Regions from separate parts of the Homo sapiens genome. Here all the other regions are linked to region 3. Evidence: promoter capture Hi-C in 16 types of primary human blood cells and fetal thymus (Javierre and others, 2016). All regions are on one chromosome and are shown on one strand. The core of a region is centred on a gene start or on the middle of the fragment in contact, and the rest is flanking DNA. Distances in the headings are between cores, read along the strand shown.

What was found. The method cuts DNA at HindIII sites, captures the fragments that hold promoters and counts their contacts. A CHiCAGO score of 5 or more calls a contact.
Region 1: a fragment that was not itself captured here is called in contact with the fragment with the promoter of HOXB-AS1 in region 3 in 1 of 17 cell types (total CD8 T cells); the score reaches 5.2 in total CD8 T cells.
Region 2: a contact is called between a fragment that was not itself captured here and the fragment with the promoter of HOXB-AS1 in region 3, in 1 of 17 cell types (total B cells). The highest score is 5.4, in total B cells.

What each region holds. Positions count from the first base shown.
Region 1 is chr17:48,371,853-48,374,991 of GRCh38, reverse strand. All of the region lies in intron 2 of SKAP1 (src kinase associated phosphoprotein 1), which reads left to right. Among named protein-coding and RNA genes, the nearest start is that of SKAP1, 57 kb to the left of the region's middle. The HindIII fragment of the contact is 4,305 bases long and covers 1-3,139 here.
Region 2 is chr17:48,751,868-48,754,666 of GRCh38, reverse strand. LOC105371812 (a long non-coding RNA gene) reads right to left here and starts at 2,239. Exons shown (of 2, transcript XR_007065830.1): 1 at 2,044-2,239; 2 at 1-1,552. RefSeq lists enhancers at 91-1,080, 1,133-2,050. The HindIII fragment of the contact is 2,934 bases long and covers 1-2,799 here.
Region 3 is chr17:48,543,091-48,546,121 of GRCh38, reverse strand. It overlaps HOXB-AS1 (HOXB cluster antisense RNA 1), which reads right to left and starts at 1,771. Exons shown (of 7, transcript NR_102279.1): 1 at 1,710-1,771; 2 at 765-1,001; 3 at 558-627. It overlaps HOXB2 (homeobox B2), which reads left to right and starts at 1,013. Exons shown (of 2, transcript NM_002145.4): 1 at 1,013-1,601; 2 at 2,375-3,031. The coding sequence starts at 1,211. RefSeq lists an enhancer at 2,145-2,790 and a silencer at 2,598-2,887. The HindIII fragment of the contact is 10,206 bases long and covers 231-3,031 here.

The DNA of each region.
Region 1 (3,139 bases), core at 375-2,874, 170 kb after region 3:
TTGTACTTTTGGTGAGATTAAGGAATTGGGACTAGAAGGATCACCAGCTCTTCCACCAAAGACCTTCCTTTTGCTGCCCAGTTGTTTCTAAGGCTGGTACCTGGACCCCTGGGTCCCAGGCCTTGGATGCCTCCACTGGGGACTTCCACCAGATGGTGCTGTTTTCCCATTTCTGTTGTTGGGTGTCACTGGCCATGTTACTCTTTGCCACTAGTCCATACCTTCTGCAAGGTAGTAGATGGGACACTTTCAGAAGATAATTTGGAAGCAATGTGAATCTTTCCAAGTGAGAAAAAGAATTATAGGAAATATTTAGTGTACAGACTCTTAGCATTGCTCAGCAAAGCCATTTCCTTGGGCATAAATAAACTTCTACCATGTGGCTGACTGCTCAAGATCAGTTGCAAGGGGTTTTCCTAGCCTTATCAACTTGCATGGAATCCATGCCCAACTAGGTGTCCGTCTGAATCCTAAGATTCCATTTTCAATGCAGGATAACTCTTCAGTGTTAGCCTTTGCAGTCTGTTTGGAGACAGCCATTATCAGAGAACAGAGATGGTCAAGAGAGAGATAGAAGTCTTTGGACACTGAGTATTGCAGACAGCCTATGCATTCAGAAGGCATTGCTGTTTTAGTACAAAAAGGAAGTTCAGGCTGAATGCAATGGCTCACATCTGTAATCTCAGCACTTTGGGAGGCCAAGCAGGCAGATTGCTTGAGTCCAGGAGTTCAAGACCAGTCTGGGCAACATGGTGAAACCCTGTCTGTACAAAAAAAAAAAAAACAAAAATTAGCCAGGCATGGTGGAGCGTGCCTGTAGTCCCAGATACTCAAGAAGCTAAGGTGGAACGATGGCTTGAGCCTGGGAGGCAGAAGTTGCAGTGAGCTGAGATTGTGTCACTACGCTCCAGCATGGGCAGCAGAGCAAGACCCTGTCTCAAAAACAACAAAAAAGAGAAGTTCAAATTTGGATGTCCTTAAGTCATTAAGAAGAGATTTGATTTTGTTCAGCAGGAGTTTACCAAGGCAGAGAGTATATGATGTGTTTTAAATTTCCATAAGTCACAGGTAAAATAACACTTTTAATACTTCAGTTGCAAAAAAAAATTCATCTAGATGTTCTAGAGTTATAACATCACAGATGTTGGCCTTTCTGGGTAGCTAGTTTTATAATGCCATTACAACTCTATTCACCTAATTCAGTGGGTCATATCATTTTTGGTGGGTGTGGGGCAAGGGTGAGTTATTGACACTAATGAGGTCTATAGACTCTTCTCCAAGAGAAAAGAAAACAAGTGTTACATTTCACCCACAATTTTAGAGAGTTTAGGAAATCCCCTGAAGCCTAAACTATGGACTTCAGGTTAAAGACCTCTGTCTAACCACTCCCTAATATTCATATTAGGGTTGATTCATGCCCATAGGCTATCTAACAAAACAACTGTATCTTCTCTTAAGTACCAGATTTATTTTTTTTTATATATTACAGCCAATAGGAAAGCAGTTAATATGGAATTTAAGAGCTTGGGCTCTGGAACCAAGTAGACCTGTGATATGGTTTGGCTCTGTCCCCCCACCCAAATCTCATCTTGAATTATAAACCCCACATGTCAAGGGAGGGACCTGGTGGGAGGTGATTAGATCGTGGGAGCAGATTTGCCCCTTGCTGCTCTCATGATAGTGAGTGGGTTCTCACAAGATCTGGTTGTTTGATAAGTGTCTAGTGCTTCCCACTTCTCTCATGTTCTCTCTCTCTCCTGCCACCCTGTGAAGAAGGTGCTTGCTTCCCTTTCACCTTCCACCATGGTTTTAAGTTTCCTGAGGCCTCCGCAGCCATGTGGAAGTGTGAGTCAGTTAAACCTCTTTTATTTATAAATTACCCAGTCTCAGGTAGTATCTTTATAGCAGTGTGAAAATGGACTAATACAACCTGGATACAAATCTTGGTTCTGCCACTTAGTAGCTATGTGATCTTGGCCAAGTTGTTTGACCTTCCTGAGTTTGAGTTTCCTCATGTGTAAAATGAGGATAATAGTAGTCCTGGGCTGGGCATAGTGGCTCATGCCTGTAATCCCAGTGCTTTGGGGAGGCCAAAGCAGGAGGATCACTTGAGGCCAGAAGTTCGAGACCAGTCTGGGCAACATAGTGAGAATTTGTATCTACTAAAATGAAAAATAAAGGAAATTAGCCAGGTGTGGTGGTGCACACCTATAGTCCCAGCTACTTCGGAGGCTGAGGCAGGAAGATTGCTTGAGCCCAGGAGTTCAAGTTTACAATAAGCTATGATTGCACCACTGCATTCCAGCCTATGTGACAGAATGCAACCTTGTCTTAAAAAAATACTGACCTCCTAGGGTTTTTATGAAGATTAAATAAAATAATACATGTGCCGGGCATGGTGGCTCACGCCTGTAATCCCAGCACTTTGGGAGGCCAAGGCAGGCAAATCACCTGAGGTCAGGAGTTCGAGACCAGCCTAACCAACATGGAGAAACCCCTGTCTACTAAAAATACAAAATTAGCCGGGCATGGTGGCACATGACTGTAATCCCAGCTACTCGGGAGGCTGAGGCAGGAGAATCACTTGAACCTGGGAGGCGGAGGTTGCGGTGAGCCAAGACTGCACCATTACACTCCAGCCTGGGCAACAAGAGCAAAACTCCGTCTCAAAAATGAATAAATAAATAAAATAACACATGTAAAACATATACCTAGCACAGGGCCAGACGTGGTGGCTCATGCCTGTAATCCCAGCACTTTGGGAGGCTGAGGTGGGTAAATCACTTGAGGCAAGGAGCTCAAGACCAACCTTGCCAACATGGGAAAACCCCATCTCTACTAAAAGATAAAAAATTAACTGGGTATGGTGGCACACGTTTGTAATCCTAGCTACTCAGGAGGCTGAGGTACGAGAATCGCGTGAACCCAGGAGGCAGAGGTTGCAGTGAATGGAGATTGTGCACTGCACTCCAGCCTGGGTGACAGAGTGAGACTCTGTCTCAAAAAAATATATATGATGTATATGCATATGTATATGTGTATATCTAGCACAATGCCTAACATGTAAGTGCTAATAAATGTTAATCATTTTTTTATAATTGGGAAATAGAATTATTTTTCCTTTCTTTTTTTCTTTTTC
Region 2 (2,799 bases), core at 185-2,684, 210 kb before region 3:
ACGAGCCCCATTTACAGATGAGGAAACTGAACCCGAGAGAGTGTAAACCAGTATGTGTCCCAAGCAAGACTGGACGGGGCCGGTGACTCCACGGCCAAGCGAGATCTCTGTAGCCCTTCCCCGACCACAGTAGTTTGAACTTGAACTGCAGACACGGAATTCTAGTGTGGAGATCAGTGTGAAGCCACGGAGGGGAACAGCGCTTCGGGTTCCAGCGTGGTCACTTTCATTCCGTCACTGTTCCCATTAGGACTCCAGAGAAAGACTGGGAGGGAATGGTGGTTACGCCAATTTTACAGTGTAGGAAACAGGTTTATGTGCAGGTCATAGCTACTGCAGAGACAAGAGCCCATCCCGGGAAGGTCTTCTGATGTCCCAAACCCAGGAAGAGCTTTCAGCCAGGGCGTTCATCCTGAATTTTTCATGTGCCACGTAAATGGGGTGCTGAAACAGGCCCTGAGGAGTGTTGCTGCCACGGCACCTGGCCCTCCACAGAGCCCTTAGGTTTCCTGGTGTGGAGGACCACTGTGTGAACGACGAAAGGGAACTGAACTCTCCCTTCTTCCCTTCCTCCCTTCCTTCTTTGCTTCCTTCCTTCTGCTCACCGGCTGTGGAGAAGAGTGGGCTTGGGTGATTTTCCTGTGATTCACTTCCCAGTCATCCTAGTCACTCGGCTGAGACAGGGCAGAGGCCAAGTGTCCGAGGGTTTTTTTCTGGGACACGCGCAGTTTGGCCTTGGCAAAAATCCGAGAGGAAGATGAGGCAGGCGGGACATTATTTTGGTCACTAAGCACGGGGCTCTGCAGCGCTGGGCTCGCCACTGCATTGATTTAATTCCAGCATCAACTCTGCAGTTATTTTACCTATAAGGAGACTGTGTTCAGGGAGATGGAGACCGTTGCTTGGGCCTGAAGCTGCTGGGGAATGGGACTGGGGTCTAAGCCAGGTCTATGTAACCTCATAGCTTTGCCCTGCTCTGCCGGTGGCCCAAGAATGGAAATAAGAGTCAAAACAGCCTCCCTGCACACCAGCAACATTAAAAATGACAGCCACGAGATTCTTTCTTCTTTTTTTTATTTTCTTTTCGATGAGAGTCTCACTACATTGCCTAGGCTAGAACTCCTGGCCTCAATCGATGCTCCCACTTCCATCTACCAAAACGTCAGGATTACAGGCATAAGTAACCAAGCTCAGTCCAGTAACCATTTTCTTAAGGTTCAGTGACAAAGTCCCTCCCCAAGGAGTATGGATTTCCACTCTTGTGCTAGGGAAAGTTGAAGTATGTGCCTCTAACCCTTCACAGATGCCCACTTTCCCTTCAGAGAAACGTCCTTCAGGTGATTCTTAACAAACTGGAATCTGGAAGCTGTGCCCTCCAGCTTCCCCCGCCACCCAGCCCTTCCAGCTTCCCCGTCGTTTCCACAGTCGCATTCCCGAGGTCCGCGTGAGCCGTTCTTTAGCCAGACAGAAACTACGCCCCATGTGATTGATGCTTCTGCCTTGGCCTCAAGTAGGCAACGTGGCTGCCCGCTTGGAAGACCGCCCTGGTTTCCTGGCAGGAGAGAGGATTTCAGAGGTCTCCTCCACTCAGAATCCCTCCTTCCCCCTTCCCTCTCCCTGCCGCCCGCTCCTTTCTAGTCCCAACAGTTTCCAAAGCGCAGAGGATGTTTACCTGGACGGCCTGAGGTCACAAGCCTGATTCACCGCAGGCAGGCCCCCGAGCCTGCCCCCACCCGGCACCCCGGCTCTGCCAGGGCGAGGAGATCACGCTTGGAAACCCCACCCTGCCGGGCCAAGAAACACCCCCGCCACTCCCTAGACTCCCAGGCATCCCTACCGCGCCTAGGCCCTTCCTCCCAAAGGCGCTGGCCAGGCCCAGATGCGGGAAACCGTGGGAGAACCCGGAGGGGGCCCTGGGCGCTCTTCCCACCCGCCCCCCGTCCCATAACTGCCCCTCGCTGCCAAAGATTGAGGGTCGGGCTGAAGAGAGGGTAATGAGCTCCATTTCACCTCCGATTCATTTTAAAACTCGCGTGAACCAACCTGGGGCATTCCCTGACGAATGAACGGTTTTGGGTTTACTCCCAAACCGGGCTGAGAGACTCTCCTTCAGGCTTGGTGATGGAGGCCATAAGGCAGAGACAACTTGCTCCGTTTCATCAGCCAGGAGTTGGAAGTTCAGGGGATTTCCAAGTGAATCTCAGGATGAAGGGACGTTTGTCTTCTCCCTGTGTCCTCTAAGGATGTTCCCCTTCCCTTCAGAACCCTGAGGGGGTTAATGTTTCACCAGTCACTCCCTTCCTCCCTCTCCTGTCACCTGGGGGCTCCAAGACACACCCCAGCCCCTAACCCAGCCACTACCTTGTCCCAGGTTGGGTCAGTGAGGCGGGCTGTCCCCCAGGCAGCCCCTCCTCACCTGCACCGTCCCAGCCCCGGCTGGCGTCTGCCTGAGCTTGTTGCCTCGGCCCCCACCTGACCCCAACACACTGATAAGACCTCAGACTGCCAAACATCGTTAACTTCTTTGCCTTTCTAGACTTCTCAGCCTGTCCTTTTCCCGACCCCAGTCTGCAGGGTCGCCTGGAGGTGCGTCTGTGCTTTCCTAGGCAGTGGACTCCACCACACCACTGTTGTCTTTCGCCATACACTCCTCCACCCCAGCCCCCACCCTTCCTTCAGGCTTCTCGACTGCAGCAAACTTTCTGTGACACCCAGGTGGTCTAACAGTGTCCTCTCACCCTCTACCCCACCACAACTCACTTGCCTGCCTGGACACTGACTGCCTCAGAAGAGCTCCAG
Region 3 (3,031 bases), core at 522-3,021:
AGGGAATTCTTCCTTGTCAGGGATTCTTTTTTTTTTTTTTTTCTTTTTTCTTTTTTAACTAGCACAATGGCAAAAATGGGAGGGAAAGTCTCTTTGTCCTAGGGGAAAATCTCCCCACCACACTCATGCACACACATAACGCTGATCTGAACTTTGAGAGTGCTCTAAGTTAAACCAATGGCTACCTCAGTTCTTGTTCATGTCCCTGGATATGGATACAGATACAAGCTTGAGGCTTGAGTGGGTACATGCACATCTTAGACTCTGCCTGTTTTTGGGGGATGTCACAGAGAAGCATGGAAGCCTGAAAGTGAGGAAAGCAGGGGTACATAAGGGGCAGAGGCAGTGCTGCAAACACTGGGCAGAGAAGAGAACCCAGACCATACAGCGATGGAGGCCAGAGGCCCAAAAATGCCCCTTATGCTCCATCTCACTCCTATGTGTCTGCCTGGGAGTTCCTGTCCATTTCCCAAGATTTAACTGTTGTTTTTGGAGGGTAACAGGGATAGTGGTGTGATGATTGTAAATCTCTTTCTTATTTTCACCTTAATACTGACCTTTTTCAAAGAGTGGAAGCCTCTTTCGACTCCCTCTTCCTCCAACGCGGAGATCCTCACTCATCTTTTCCTGGGGAAGGGGAGAAGGGAAGGGGATGCTGCTGGCCACGTAAAGAAGGCCTTAATTTACTCTATTAAAATACTTGGAAAAGAGGAAGGTTTCTCCCTTAGAGTCTCTTCTTTTCCAGGCTTCTGAAACCTTCTAACCTTCGAAGGGGATGAGGAAAAGGTTCCTCTAGCTTTTCTGGAGAAACGGAGGCATTGGGGAGAGAGCATGTGAGGCACTGGTGTAGGAATGGGGGCTCATGGTGTCCTGGTCGTGGTCCTCTGGTGTTTTTGAATCAATTAAACCAAATAATGCTCTCTGTTTTCCACCAGGCCCAGACGAGCGATTGGCGGAGGCCGGTCCCGTGACCACGAATTCCCTGTAATTTCGCTGGAGTCCTGGGTTTAATAGAGAGAGTCCCCATACGCTTGTATTTATCAGCAATATACAATTATAAAGGCCCAAAATTAAAAAAAAGAGAGACCGAAATCTCCCCCTCCCAAAATCGCTCCATTACATAAATCGGGGGGGGTGCAGGAGGGGGGTCCCTTCCGATCCTCCCTCCTGACGCCCCCCCCAGCAGCCCCCTCCCCCACCATTGAAAGCCATGAATTTTGAATTTGAGAGGGAGATTGGGTTTATAAACAGCCAGCCGTCGCTCGCCGAGTGTCTGACTTCCTTCCCCGCTGTCTTGGAGACATTTCAAACTTCATCAATCAAGGAGTCGACATTAATTCCTCCTCCTCCTCCTTTCGAGCAAACCTTCCCCAGCCTCCAGCCCGGCGCCTCCACCCTTCAGAGACCCAGGAGCCAAAAGCGAGCCGAAGATGGGCCTGCTCTGCCGCCGCCACCGCCGCCGCCACTCCCCGCTGCCCCCCCGGCCCCCGAGTTCCCTTGGATGAAAGAGAAGAAATCCGCCAAGAAACCCAGCCAATCCGCCACGTCTCCTTCTCCGGCCGCCTCCGCCGTTCCGGCCTCCGGGGTCGGATCGCCTGCAGGTCGGTAAGCGTGGTGGGGGTGGGGTGAGGGGCAGCTAGAAGAGGGGGAGAAAAAGCAGTGGAAGGAGGTTTAAAAAAAATGGTGGCGAGCCTGTTGGGGTTCCTTACCCCCTCCATTCCTGGGATGGGGAAGTAGAATATCCCACTGGGGTTCAGGCCTGGCCGCTAACAGCGTCTTTTTTTTTTTCTGTCTCTCTCTCTCTTTCTCTCCCTATGGCTGATTTTGGAAGCTGGTTGGGGAAACGCCTTTTTTTCTGCTAGAAGAAAATGATTTGATTGAGGTTTTCACCCGTATCTGTGTAGGGGAATGAGTATGTTGTTGCTGGGATAGACCCTAGAAGCAGAAAAGATTCGGTCCTTTCTGCCCCAACTCTAGGAGAAGAGGAAGAATTCAGAGCTAGGGAGGAAGAGGGGTGAAGAACAATCTTTCTGACCCTCGCTCCGGTTGAGTTGGAAAGTTCCGAATTGAGGGGTCCACTGGGAGGGCTTGGGAGGGGGATCTGAGGTTCCGGCGCCGAAGGGAGCCGCTCTCCGCCCCCTGCGTGGCCCGTGGGCGGCTCTGAATGCTTTGCCCTGACCCGGGCCGGGGCTGTAGACTAGAGAGGGAGAGAAGAAAACCCAAAAGCAGTAAAGCGAGCGGCTTTGGGGTGGGGGCGGGGGTGGGGTGGCGAGGAAGGGGAGAGGTGATACTGGTTTTGGAGGATGGGGTAGTCCGAACTGAGGTTGGGCTGAGTACACGGCCCGCTATGACGCCGAGCCTGTTTTCCCTGCAGATGGCCTGGGACTGCCGGAGGCTGGTGGCGGCGGGGCGCGCAGGCTGCGCACGGCTTACACCAACACGCAGCTGCTGGAACTGGAGAAGGAATTCCACTTTAATAAGTACCTGTGCCGGCCACGCCGCGTCGAGATCGCGGCCTTGCTGGACCTCACCGAAAGGCAGGTCAAAGTCTGGTTTCAGAACCGGCGCATGAAGCACAAGCGGCAGACGCAGCACCGAGAGCCGCCGGATGGGGAGCCTGCCTGCCCGGGAGCCCTGGAGGACATCTGCGACCCTGCCGAGGAACCCGCGGCCAGCCCGGGCGGCCCCTCCGCCTCGCGGGCGGCGTGGGAAGCCTGCTGTCACCCGCCGGAGGTGGTGCCGGGGGCCTTAAGCGCGGACCCCCGGCCTTTAGCCGTTCGCTTAGAGGGCGCAGGCGCGTCGAGTCCCGGCTGCGCGCTGCGCGGGGCCGGCGGGCTGGAGCCCGGGCCATTGCCAGAAGACGTCTTCTCGGGGCGCCAGGATTCACCTTTCCTTCCCGACCTCAACTTCTTCGCGGCCGACTCCTGTCTCCAGCTATCCGGAGGCCTCTCCCCTAGCCTACAGGGTTCTCTCGACAGCCCGGTCCCTTTTTCCGAGGAAGAGCTGGATTTTTTCACCAGTACGCTCTGTG